Linked DNA regions of Homo sapiens: all the other regions are linked to region 1. Evidence: promoter capture Hi-C in 16 types of primary human blood cells and fetal thymus (Javierre and others, 2016). All regions are on one chromosome and are shown on one strand. Each heading gives the region's core, a stretch centred on a gene start or on the middle of the fragment in contact. The rest is flanking DNA. Distances are from core to core; before and after follow the strand shown. Region 1 holds the start of MSL2 (MSL complex subunit 2). Region 2 holds the start of GSK3B (glycogen synthase kinase 3 beta). Region 3 holds the start of HACD2 (3-hydroxyacyl-CoA dehydratase 2).

What was found. Contacts are between HindIII fragments. The CHiCAGO score rates a contact against its expected background, and 5 or more counts as called.
Region 2: a contact is called between the fragment with the promoter of GSK3B here and the fragment with the promoter of MSL2 in region 1, in 7 of 17 cell types (fetal thymus, non-activated CD4 T cells, total B cells and 4 more). The highest score is 20.4, in fetal thymus.
Region 3: a contact is called between a fragment that was not itself captured here and the fragment with the promoter of MSL2 in region 1, in 1 of 17 cell types (total B cells). The highest score is 9.1, in total B cells.

Annotation. Positions count from the first base shown.
Region 1 is chr3:136,194,449-136,198,445 of GRCh38, reverse strand. It overlaps MSL2 (MSL complex subunit 2), which reads left to right and starts at 2,111. Exons shown (of 2, transcript NM_018133.4): 1 at 2,111-3,474. The coding sequence starts at 3,333. RefSeq lists enhancers at 1,564-1,863, 2,034-2,083, 1,661-2,407, 3,034-3,103, 2,408-3,154 and 2 more and a silencer at 2,304-2,693. The HindIII fragment of the contact is 2,546 bases long and covers 1,031-3,576 here.
Region 2 is chr3:120,092,251-120,096,247 of GRCh38, reverse strand. GSK3B (glycogen synthase kinase 3 beta) reads left to right here and starts at 1,801. Exons shown (of 11, transcript NM_001146156.2): 1 at 1,801-2,901. The coding sequence starts at 2,814. GSK3B-DT (GSK3B divergent transcript) reads right to left here and starts at 1,144. Exons shown (of 3, transcript NR_186629.1): 1 at 470-1,144. RefSeq lists enhancers at 693-1,012, 1,292-1,586, 1,213-1,622. The HindIII fragment of the contact is 3,897 bases long and covers 1,150-3,997 here.
Region 3 is chr3:123,581,514-123,585,510 of GRCh38, reverse strand. It overlaps HACD2 (3-hydroxyacyl-CoA dehydratase 2), which reads left to right and starts at 458. Exons shown (of 7, transcript NM_198402.5): 1 at 458-638; 2 at 3,182-3,299. The coding sequence starts at 484. RefSeq lists an enhancer at 1-273 and silencers at 334-943, 954-1,133. The HindIII fragment of the contact is 262 bases long and covers 2,039-2,300 here.

The sequences.
Region 1 (3,997 bases), core at 862-3,361:
TAGGCAAGGCTCAAGCAAGCCAATAAATATTAGAAGAGAATATACCTCAAGATTCTTTGCCTCTAAGTACAATACTCTTATTACCAGTTGCAACCAATTTCAGAAGCTAAAAAAGAACTGGCTTAACACACGTTTTCTCTCTCACGTCCATGCACACGAATGATCAACAGAATTAATCTTAATTTGGGGTGTACACATCTGAAGACATTTGTAAAAATCCAGTTATGAGAAAATTAGCAAGGTTAATGCCCTGCAAGTAATCACTTGCTTAGGGTGACTGCTAATTTATTGTCTTAACGGAAAACAGTGCTGATTATTTTACTCTGTGTTGCTCCTTTTGGGGAGAACCACCTCTGTGTTGTGGGAGAAGACCTTAGAGTCTGGAGTAAAAATAGAACCGTGTAACAATTTTATTTGAAGGAGAGCTTAGAAAAGATCTCTTATGCAAAAAAAAAAAAAAAAAGAGAGCTTTTAAAAATGAGAGTGGCTTTTAGAATATTTGTCATTTTCCACGTATAAGACAACCAAATACAGTTTGCACAGCTAATCAAAATTAGGAAGTTATATTCTTACTGCTTAATATTTAAGTGTTGATAATATGGTAGGTCTTGTGAAAAAAAAACCTGTCTTCAAATGGTAATAGAAATTATAAATCGAGATTATATGTGTTCCCTTGATATCTTAACTATTCCTACTCACCTCAAGTGGCAGCTTGTAACTAACACGTACCACATTTACATGTTCCATATACGTGCCTGTGTACATATGTAACATGTGCCACAATAGATTTACACGCATCATAATTTTCACTTTGCAAACGTATAGAGTACCTACTGTGCATGAAAAATTATGCTGAGGAGCTTTGGTGTGTACAGAGATAAGAAATGCTTCCTATGGCCTGTTACTATTTGTGCTACTCAAAAAAAGGTTTTGTACTTTGAGATGGGAGGGAAGTCATCTACTAAGTCAGGCTTTTGTTTATTTATATCCCAGTGCCCTTGATCTCCTGCAAAAACAAAAGGCAAAAGCTTGTTTTAAAAAACAAAACATTTGCAAGGATTTGGGTTTGTTCTAGAGCAAGATCACGCATTCTTCAAGACATCTGTTCACACAGAAGAGCTAGGTCTTTTAAAAAAGCTAGGTCTTTCAAAAAAAAAAAAAAGGAGTTCGTTTTGTTTTTAAAACAGGACTCTGTTCCGGTGAGAGCTCGGTGAAGTCCTGATCGGCACCCATGAAGGTGAGGCCGCACGAGTCCAAGGGCCAGAGGCCGTGGGAACAGCGCGGGTCCGACGGGTAGGAGGGGGCAGTGGGTTCGAGCCTCCACGCTTACATACAGCCTGCCAGGGCCTTAGAGCCCTCTGACTGCGAACCACCGCAGAGAGGTGCGGAACGCGGCCCCGACCCGGCAAAAGCCGTCCGCACGCCTGCTGGGCGCGCAGCCACGTTGACTACTGCAGCCTTCCCGGCTCGGCGAGAGCCTGCCAGCCAGCCGAGGCTGCGCCCTTTCCGCGGTCGGGATGAGCGGTTCCAGGAGAAAGGCCGCGAGGGCGGGGCTTGGGGCCTGGCGCGGCTATTTCCTCACACCGCGGTCAGTCAGGACGAGAGGCCGCGTTCAGGCCAGTGCAGAGCGCCACATGGCGCTACCAAGTCGGGCCCCGGCGTTGGCGGGCACAGAAGCAGTGTAATGCGGGAAGCCTGCAGCCCACACTGGGGAAGGATGTGCCAGCTAACGAATGTTTCACCACAGCCCACATGCCTGGGAGAGGGAATTTGAGAGCACGTGGGGGAGGGGCGAAGAGAGCTGTCGGCTCGCAGAGAGCATGCTCCATTCTGAGAGTCGAAGTGGAGAGCCAGGCATGCGCAGTGAGCCCAGGGTGGGTTGGCAGCGGTGAGGGACTGGCGCGAGCAGGCTGATGTGTTTATCCGGTTTTCTGGGTGGGCGGTCAAAGCGCACGCGGAAGGGCGAAAGGCGGCGGAGCTAGGTAGCAGCTTGCGCATGCGTGGAGTGAGCCGGTAGCTCTGGGAGGCTGTGGAGGGGGTTGTTAGAGGAGAAGCAAGGGAAAAGGGAAGCGAAGGGAGAGGAAAGGGGGGAGGGGTGAGAGTGTGCTCTGCGCATGCGTGCGAGCGCTAGCGACGACGGCGGCGGGGGAGTCTCGGGGATGACAGTGGCTTTGCCCGTTGGGGTAACGGTCGTCGTCGCCGCCAGCAGAGGCCTGAGGCGCCACACAGCCCGCGGGATCCATTAAGGCCGCAGCAGCCCGGGCCCTACCGAGCTGGAGTGGCGCGTGGAGTCGGGGTGAGGGCGGCGAGGCACGGGGGAGGGGCCTGCGGCGGGGCCTTGCTGTGTGCGCTGGGCGGCGGCGGGGCCTGGCGGTGTGAGCGCTTGCCTTCCGCGGCCGGGGAGTGCTGAGGGCGGCGGCGGCCGTCGTGCTCGGCGGAGGAGTCGTCTGTGTGTGTGGCGCCGAAAAAATGGCCGGGCAGTGAGGGGGCGGCGCTTGAGTCTGGTGACCCCGGAGTGTGCGACTGAGGCGCGAGGGGCGCCGCCGCGGCCCGGCCGGGCTTGCCCCCCGCCCCCTCCCGCCCGCCGGCGGCGGCCCGCGCACTTCCTCCCCGGCCTTCCCCTCCGGGTTGAGGACTCCCGCCCGCCTCGCCACCTCGGGGAACTGCGGGCTGCAACCCACGGGGCGGAGAGCCAGGGCGCAGTCTGGGCCCCGCGTCCGATATGGAGAGCGCGGCGGCGGCGTCCGCCAGCCGCAACATCAACCTTCGTCGCCGCCGCGGCGTCTTGCACTAGATCCGGGAAGCCGCTGCCCGACCGTCGTCCTTGCCGTCGCCGCCGCCTCCGCGCCCTGTACTGGGATGGAGTAAGAGGCCCTGCAGCCCGGGAGAAGCGTGCCGCGCCTCAGACGGGGCCGGGGCCTGCTCCCGCGCCTGCCAGCTCGACTTGAGGAGGCGCCTCCGTGTCCGGAGATGGAGCTCGAGTGCAGGCCGCCTGCCGAGCCGCGGGGCTAGACTGAGCTCCGAGTCCCGCCCCGAGCGCCCAAGCCGCCGCGTTCTGCGCTCTGTGGTCGCTCCGGACGAACTCGAACGCTGGTTTCTCTCTCATATTTTTGGTCTGGAAGTCTCAGGGACGGAGGGGCGCCAAGGCCCCATGTGTGGGAGGATTGTTTCAGCTCCACAAACTTGCACGGATTTTGGTTACTTGTTTGGCCAATGGTTCGGCTCTGATTTCTTCCGAATTGTTGCAAATTCGCCATCGTTCCCTGGCTGCTTACTAAGTTGGATCCGGAATTTCTTTTCAACCGGGAGCCATTGGTGTCGAAGTGTCTGCAATGAACCCCGTGAATGCTACTGCTCTCTACATTTCCGCGAGCCGCCTAGTGCTCAACTACGACCCCGGAGACCCCAAGGCGTTTACTGAGATTAACAGGCTCTTGCCTTACTTCCGACAGTCCCTTTCGTGCTGTGTTTGCGGTGAGACGCTTTTTATTGTTCCCTTTTCAATGCTTGTTTTTAAAAGCCTTCTGGGCAGTGGTAACGTGAGCGGGTTGACGGCCTGGTGGTTGGTATTAAGCTTTTGTTATTTGTGCAGCGCTGTACGGTCATTAGTTTTGAAACTTGCTGAGGGACTTTTGCCCGGCGTTTCAGAAAGGCAGAGAACCCTTTCATACCGCTTTGTGCAGCGGCGTTAACGTTCAAAATGGTTTAATTCGCCTCGGTTCATCTGGTGGTGGTGGTTTAAGTGGGGGTAAGATGCATGCACAAGGCTTTTTTTTTTTTTTTCTTAAACCTTTGCCGCGGGAGCTGATTACGTACCTACGGCGGTTAAAAGTGGTTAAACATGATCAAAACATGCACATGTGGGCACATGTGGCGTGTTTGCATTTCCCCAAACTGGTGTTACGTGGGAGTGGTGGGCTAAGCTGATGAACCCACAGCTGGAGAACCCGGCGCGGAACTTTGCCCCAGGTTCCTCCACAAATGCTTTGACGGTTTG
Region 2 (3,997 bases), core at 552-3,051, about 16 Mb after region 1:
CCTCTGTAGCCATTTGAATCTGCAAACACTATCTAGACCTTTCCTGTCTTCCATCAAAGCTTACTTTGTTCTGTCCCAAGTCCTTCATCAGTGTTTCAAAGCAAGAGCCAGGTAATCTGATCAAATATAGGTCCTTTAACATGTGCTTTCTGGAGACAGCATCTTAACAGAAAGAGATGACTCTGCAGGTAGAAATTACAGGCACCACTGGATTACAATCAGGATGGCAACTGTCTGTTCTACTTTCTCTGTTATCTTGACGTAGCCATACCTCACTGTTCTAAAGCAGACCAAAGGAACTGGTTCTATGGTAGAACAATGGACGCTGGTCTTATGTATGAAATCTTCTCAAGCTGCACTTTTATAGATCACCCTAGTTCCAAAAGATCCAAAGCTACCACGGGCTCCTCTGACCCCCCCATTTCCTCGGAGGCTTCAGGATATCCGGCCTGACGGCATTTCCCCTCACCTGCTTTCGGGGCCCGTTTTGCGCTGGGCAGTTGCGCCCAAGGAGCGCGCGCATCCAGCATGAGCTCATTTCTCATGGGCGTTTCCAGAGGCCCGGCCGGGCCGCGCACACCAAGCGCAGCAAGCCTCTGTATCAATGGCCCCCGCGGCTGGGCGGGGCGCGGCCGCCCAAAGGCGCTGCCTTTCTGGAAGCTTTGTTCCCATTTTAGCGTCTGAGAGCTTGCAGCCGGCTGGGAAGGCCCCCTTGGTCCGTCTGGCCCTTTCGGGGAAGAGGCCAACACTCGGCACACGCGATCCACGGCAGAGGGGAGCCTTGGGCGCGCAGAATTGGCTGCGCCCCGCCGAGAGCCTCCTGTGGGTGGGGAGAGCCCCTCCACCCCTCTGCTCGCTTGAGCGCTCAGAGCCCAGGGCCGCCGACCGCAGCACTTTCCGATTTGCTGCACCGAGGGCCCGCGGTCCCTGTGTGCGGTTTCCACCGTTGTTGGAGGCGGCCGCAGGCGAACCGTCGGGTCGTCAGCCACGACCCGAGTCAGGCATCTCCCCGCTCCTGGGACCGGGGCCGAAGGCCAATCACACTGCAGCTAGGTCTTGCGATTGGACGGCAGTGAGAGCCGATTGGCCGCCGCCGCGAGTTTCGGGCTCCCTCCCTCTCCCTTTTGCCCCAACTCCAGCGCCTAAGCTTCAGGCCAATGAGACAGCGCTTTATAGACGCCCTCCCTTCGCTTTCTTCTCCCCACCTTGGAGAGGGAGGGGAAGTCCTGACTGGCCAGACTGTCCTCGGAAGCCCCCTTCTCTTCACCAATCACCGAAGGAGGTACGCTCCCAGCGGAGTTTTCCAGCCAATCACAAAGCGGCGGCGGCGCCCAGCCGTGCAGTTTCACCAGCGTCTCTGGGTTTCACCGTCCTCAACTCTTCAAGCCTCTTCGTAAGGGCCGGCGACTCTGATTGGCCACTGTTGCCATTGTCGAATGTCTCCTCCAGCCAGCCACCGAACAAGGCGAATTCACCCTTTCCGTTCGGCTACCTTCGGCATTTTCCGCTCTTTGGGCGTGGCTTCCCAGCGTCACTTTCTAATTGGTTTCTCAGGCTGATCGGCTTTTTCCGGGAGGAGCCGCAAACAAACGACGTCCGTGATTGGCTCCGTTCGGGCTTCGGCTCCCAGCCGAAGCGGGCGAGCGTGGGGCTCGGCCGGCGATTCCCAGACGCCTGTTACGCGGGCGGCGGGGCGCTGGGCGGTGTAAGGCTGGGTGGGGGAGGAAGGAGGTGGAGGACGAGTAGGAGGGGGGAGGAGGAGTGGGGAAGTGCAAGGCGGCTGCGCAGACAGCGCTCCTCACACAGAGCAGCTCCTGACCCGGGCGAATGCGGGCTTGTGCCGCCGCCGCCGCCGCCGCCGCCCGGGCCAAGTGACAAAGGAAGGAAGGAAGCGAGGAGGAGCCGGCCCCGCAGCCGCTGACAGGGCTCTGGGCTGGGGCAAAGCGCGGACACTTCCTGAGCGGGCACCGAGCAGAGCCGAGGGGCGGGAGGGCGGCCGAGCTGTTGCCGCGGACGGGGGAGGGGGCCCCGAGGGACGGAAGCGGTTGCCGGGTTCCCATGTCCCCGGCGAATGGGGAACAGTCGAGGAGCCGCTGCCTGGGGTCTGAAGGGAGCTGCCTCCGCCACCGCCATGGCCGCTGGATCCAGCCGCCGCCTGCAGCTGCTCCTGGCGCAATGAGGAGAGGAGCCGCCGCCACCGCCACCGCCCGCCTCTGACTGACTCGCGACTCCGCCGCCCTCTAGTTCGCCGGGCCCCTGCCGTCAGCCCGCCGGATCCCGCGGCTTGCCGGAGCTGCAGCGTTTCCCGTCGCATCTCCGAGCCACCCCCTCCCTCCCTCTCCCTCCCTCCTACCCATCCCCCTTTCTCTTCAAGCGTGAGACTCGTGATCCTTCCGCCGCTTCCCTTCTTCATTGACTCGGAAAAAAAATCCCCGAGGAAAATATAATATTCGAAGTACTCATTTTCAATCAAGTATTTGCCCCCGTTTCACGTGATACATATTTTTTTAGGATTTGCCCTCTCTTTTCTCTCCTCCCAGGAAAGGGAGGGGAAAGAATTGTATTTTTTCCCAAGTCCTAAATCATCTATATGTTAAATATCCGTGCCGATCTGTCTTGAAGGAGAAATATATCGCTTGTTTTGTTTTTTATAGTATACAAAAGGAGTGAAAAGCCAAGAGGACGAAGTCTTTTTCTTTTTCTTCTGTGGGAGAACTTAATGCTGCATTTATCGTTAACCTAACACCCCAACATAAAGACAAAAGGAAGAAAAGGAGGAAGGAAGGAAAAGGTGATTCGCGAAGAGAGTGATCATGTCAGGGCGGCCCAGAACCACCTCCTTTGCGGAGAGCTGCAAGCCGGTGCAGCAGCCTTCAGCTTTTGGCAGCATGAAAGTTAGCAGTGAGTATTGGTTTTATTTTACACCCCTTTTCCACCTCGCCCTTAAAATAAGAAACCTCGAAATACCAGGATCTGAAATTATTAGACCTCCTGATAAACAGGCAATGGAAAAGGGCAAAACCTATCTTCAGTCAAGGATGAAGCAGCTCCCTTTTTACTCCTCCCATACCCCCTCCCCCGGTCTCATTAACCTTGAATTGAGATAATATGATATTTATTTGGATGATTCGATTTCAAACTGCTTTCTTGTACTTTTCTTGCTGTTGGTAGTCAGTTTCATCAAGTGCTCGAGTGTTTCCACGTTAAAGTAGTGATGACAGTGTTTACTTGCCCATCCTTTAGAATAAAGAGAAGGACAAGATTTGATTACTAAACCATTATGCACATTTGCAGAATTTTTGGAATTTGGAATGAGAGAATATTTTAGGTCTCAGGGGTTATCATAGTTTGATATACTTAATAGAGACGTTAAATGTCCCACCCTCCCAACATTTTTTTCTTGTTTGTATGACTACACATAATATTTGTTCTTAATCTGTGGATGAACTTCCTCAGTAACCATTCACATTTGGAGGCTGCCATTGATTTCTCTCTTTAGAAGGGACTAGTGGGAGCCAATAAATACCTAGCAGCAGTAACATCTCTGTATGCATTTGTGTTCAATTGGATAAGTGGTTTGATGTGTTATCTCTTAACCTTCCTGTTTTGACATTACCAACCTGCCACCGTATAATTTATGTTTAATCAAAAGTTAACTTGGAAGTATTAATAGGTCCAAGTTTTGATTGAGATTTGTTTTGTCATAGTGCCAAATACTAAGTTAAATGTTGTCACTGGCTCATTACATTTAAGTTCAATTTTGGAGTGCTACTGCATTCATTACCTGTTAAATGTTCTGGCGGGTTCCTTAAAAAGGACGATTTAAAACACTCTAGCGTTAGTTTCCATCATATTTAGATAACTGTGGATTTAGTTAGAAGAATGTGGATTTAGTCCTTTCCATTTTGGCTTTTGCAGATGGCTATGGTCCTAGAAATAATAGGGATATTTGGGCTGTGTTCAGGGTTGTGGATAGACTACTCTTGTCCTGGGTTTG
Region 3 (3,997 bases), core at 920-3,419, about 13 Mb after region 1:
ATCCACCGTCAACCGCCCTGATCCAAAATGGCAGGATACCGGAGCAATAGTGTTCAGGTGTGAAGATAGGGCAATTGAAGAAGGGAGAACGAAAGCATAATTGTTTTGATTCAACATGGAAGCAGTGATTATAGGAGGGCGAATAGCGAGGGACGACGCAACATCCAGCTGGCAGAAGCAGCGGGCCTGGAGAGGGTGGCTACATTGAACTAATCCAAGATGGCGCCGAGGTTGTAACCGGGAGCGCCCAAGAGGCGGGAATTACCCTGATCCAAGATGGCAGTGGCAACTGAGGCAAGCCGAAAGACGGGAGCGCCAGGAGCGTCTTTGCCCTCAGCCAAGATGGCGGCTGCCGTGGACCCTGTCCCGGCTCCGCCCCGCGGCCCTGGCCCCGCCTGCCCCTCGTCCCTTCCTCCGCCCCCTCTCCTCGCGTAGTCCGGCCCGAGCCGCTCGCGCTAGGAGAGCGGGCTTCGGGCACTTGACATGGCGGCAGTGGCGGCGACTGCAGCAGCGAAGGGGAATGGGGGCGGCGGTGGCAGGGCCGGGGCCGGGGACGCCAGCGGCACGCGGAAGAAGAAGGGCCCGGGGCCCCTGGCCACGGCGTACCTGGTCATCTACAATGTGGTGATGACAGCCGGGTGAGGCTGGGGCTCGGGGAGGCGGGGAGCCAGCGCGGCCGGGGAGGGAGCCCTGCGGCCAGCGGCGGGGCGGATAGGATCGGCGCGGCCCGCCGCAGGCAGTGCATTCCCGGCGGGGGGTGCCCGGGACCCGGTACCTGGGCGCTGAGGGCGGCCGAGCGCTGAATCGGCCCCGGTGGCTGCCCGCGAGCTCCCTCCTGCGCTGGGGGTCGAGCCAAGTTCCCAGGCACTGGGGCGCGGGGACGGCTGCCGGGCGCTGGCTCGCGAGGGCCGCGGGAGGAAAGGTGGGGCTGGCCACAGGTGCGGGGCCGGGGGCAGCGGCCGGACTACCTGCGGCGCGGAGCCCGTCCTGGGCGGCCAGATTCGGATGTTGAACGGCGCCAGCATGGGGAGTGGAGGAGCTGTGGCTGCAGAGTGACCATTCATTTGGGCGGCTGTTTTCAAAATCTGGGCTGCGCTTTAATCTGAAAGGTATTGGGAAAGCGTTCAAAGTTTTTGGCCAGCGACATGAGCAGAGCTAGGCTTTAGATGAGTTTAGACTTTTAGGATGGGTTGGGGTGGGGAAGAAACTGGGGAGTAGAAGGCAGAGTTACTGGAAAGGGGGAGAATGGACCCTCGAAACGGTTTTACCCATCTTCTGTCTCTTTCATTTCAGTGCATCCCTTATCCCGGCGGGTTTTTAGTTCAAGCTCTGCCACTAACTAGCTGTGTGACTTTGGATAAATCATCTTATTTCTCTAGCCTCCGTTTTTTCATTTGTAAAACTAAAGGGTTGGTCTGGGTGATGAAGGTTCCTTCAGCTCTGCAATTCTTTATCTTGTCATTTTGGTGAGGAGGATCACAGCATCAGACAGTTATATATTTTTAAGTTATCTTCATTTGTAATTTTTTAAGAAGTCCTAACATTTTATTATGAAAAATTTCAAACATACAGAAGAGTTGAAAGAATTGTATAGTGAACATCCATTTTTATTTAAAGTAGGTGATACATTGTTAGGGTTAAAAATGAAAAACATGAGGGAATACAGTGAAAATCTTTCCTCCCACCTTTCCCTTCTACCCAGCTCCCCTCCCTCGAGGCAGTTAATTTTGTGTATCCTTAAGATGCTGATGCAAGCAAATATGTTTATACATCCCCCTATCCCTTTTTAAAATAAGACAAATGCCAATATATTAATATTTTTACAGTTCAGCACCTTGCTTTTTTTTCACGAAGAAGAAAATATATCGTGGGAGGATCATATATGTATTGCTAGTATTAGAAATGGTAGGTGTTGGAACCTAGGCTCAGAGAAGTTGTGACTTGCATGAGATCATAGAACTTGTTAGTAGAAGTTCCAGATCTAGAAATCATTTCTCTTGACTCACAGGTCAATGAAGAACTAGTACAGATACAAGCTTTATATCACATCAGTGGTCACATAGATTGATTTTTAAAAAAACATCCAGGAATCTCACTGTGTGTATTAATATTTATATATAAAATTCTTGTTGTCTTAGCAAGAGCCGGTGAGGGCATTGGACTGGAGAGGGATTTTGAGGTACATTGGTAAGAAGAAAGAAGTCTATTCCTGAGCAATGAACATAGAGAATGGGGTGGAGGGTAAGGAGTGGTATCTTAAACCAGGAAGATAAATTGGGATTGTGAGAGCAAAGTAAGCTTTTTTTTTAAGGCTGTTAATGGTTGTACCAGTTACACCATTAAATAATTTCTTCTTTTACAAACTCTTACTTGATGTCCTTATGTGATAGTTTTTGGAAATAGCATAGACCACACACACCCCATTGCCTAGTTGATACTATACATTTATCTAAATCCTTCCAGGAGACATACCTTAATAAAAAGGTCCATTTGTTTTATTATGGAACTTAACAAAACATTGTGTTTATTTTTGAGAAGGACAGTGGAACAAAAATATAACATTCACAGCTGTATGCTTAAGTGCTTTCCTGTTTCGTGGTTTGTATTGATCTGGCTTTCATTTCTGCATTGATTTTAGGAAATTTGGCTAAAAAACTTTTTTTTTTTAGCAAGAGCCCTTTATTCGTAATTTTAAAAGGATAGATTTTAAGGTATGGGTAATTGTTCCAGTGAGACAATTATAACAATAGTTTAAAGCATCTTCTTTCCACCCTGTAATTATTAAAAACCCTTTAACTGCACAGGCTGTTTAAAATTTTCCTTTAACTGTTTTTTTCTCGTCTTAGATTTTCTTGGCACCTGATTTAGTGGCACAAGGACCATTTTAGCTTATTCCTTTCCTTTTGGCCTTGATCTCAATAGCAAAGTTGCCAAAAAAATGAGCTCCAGATGGGTGAGGTGCCACTATGCTTTCACTGAGCCCTCTTGGTAAGGTGCTGTCGGTGTTGCAACATTTCAGTGCATTACAGCTTGGCATTTGAGAGCTATCGTCCATAAATCCAGGTTACTCATGCTTGAGGTCACCTTTAGCAATATCTTTTATTGCCACAGCTGTGTGTTAACCTAAATGCTACTTTTTTTATTTTTATTTTTTCCTGATTGCTGTTTTCTCTTTTACTAGGTGGCTGGTTATAGCGGTTGGTCTGGTCCGAGCATACCTGGCTAAGGGTAGCTACCATAGCCTTTATTATTCAATTGAAAAGCCTTTGAAATTCTTTCAAACTGGAGCCTTATTGGAGGTAGGTCCTGAGATTTATTGTTGTTATTGATTTCCATTGGTATGAAGAAAAACATGCAACTAAATTATATTGAAGTAGCATACCCCCTTTGGATTCATGTTAAATTTTGAAATTTTGCCTCCTCACATACTAAAGTGTTGATACCTAGGCTTTTTGATGTTCTAGATTGGGTAGAATCTCATTTAACTTAGGTTACCTTGAATGTATTTTATATTCGACTTTTTTGGGAAATCAACTGAAGCAAGCTTATATTAGGATTTTTAAAAATTCTAGGGACATCCTGGGGAAGCACTGGCAAAATCAGATGCTTTCAGGGTTTATGTAATAGAAATAGTGAAGTTGGTGGGTGTAGGATATTGGAAGTGATAGATAGAAGACATAATAGAGAGCCTGTCTAGAGGCGTCCAAATTTTAAAAATTTAACAAAAATGTATTGATTTCCCTGCATTAAGGGCAATGTATATCCAGCCCTCTCTCTTGGGGTAAGTATAGATTAGGATTTTGGAATTGCAAGGGACAAAAACCCAATTCAAACTATTTTAAGCAAAAAAGGAATTTTCTGGCCTCTGTAGTTGATACAGATACAGGATTAATTTACAAAGAAACTAGCTCAGGAATGAGAACCAAGGAGCTGACACTGCCAGATTCTCTTGCTTTCTCTCATTTCTGCTTGTCTGTTTCTCTTTGAATGTTGGTCT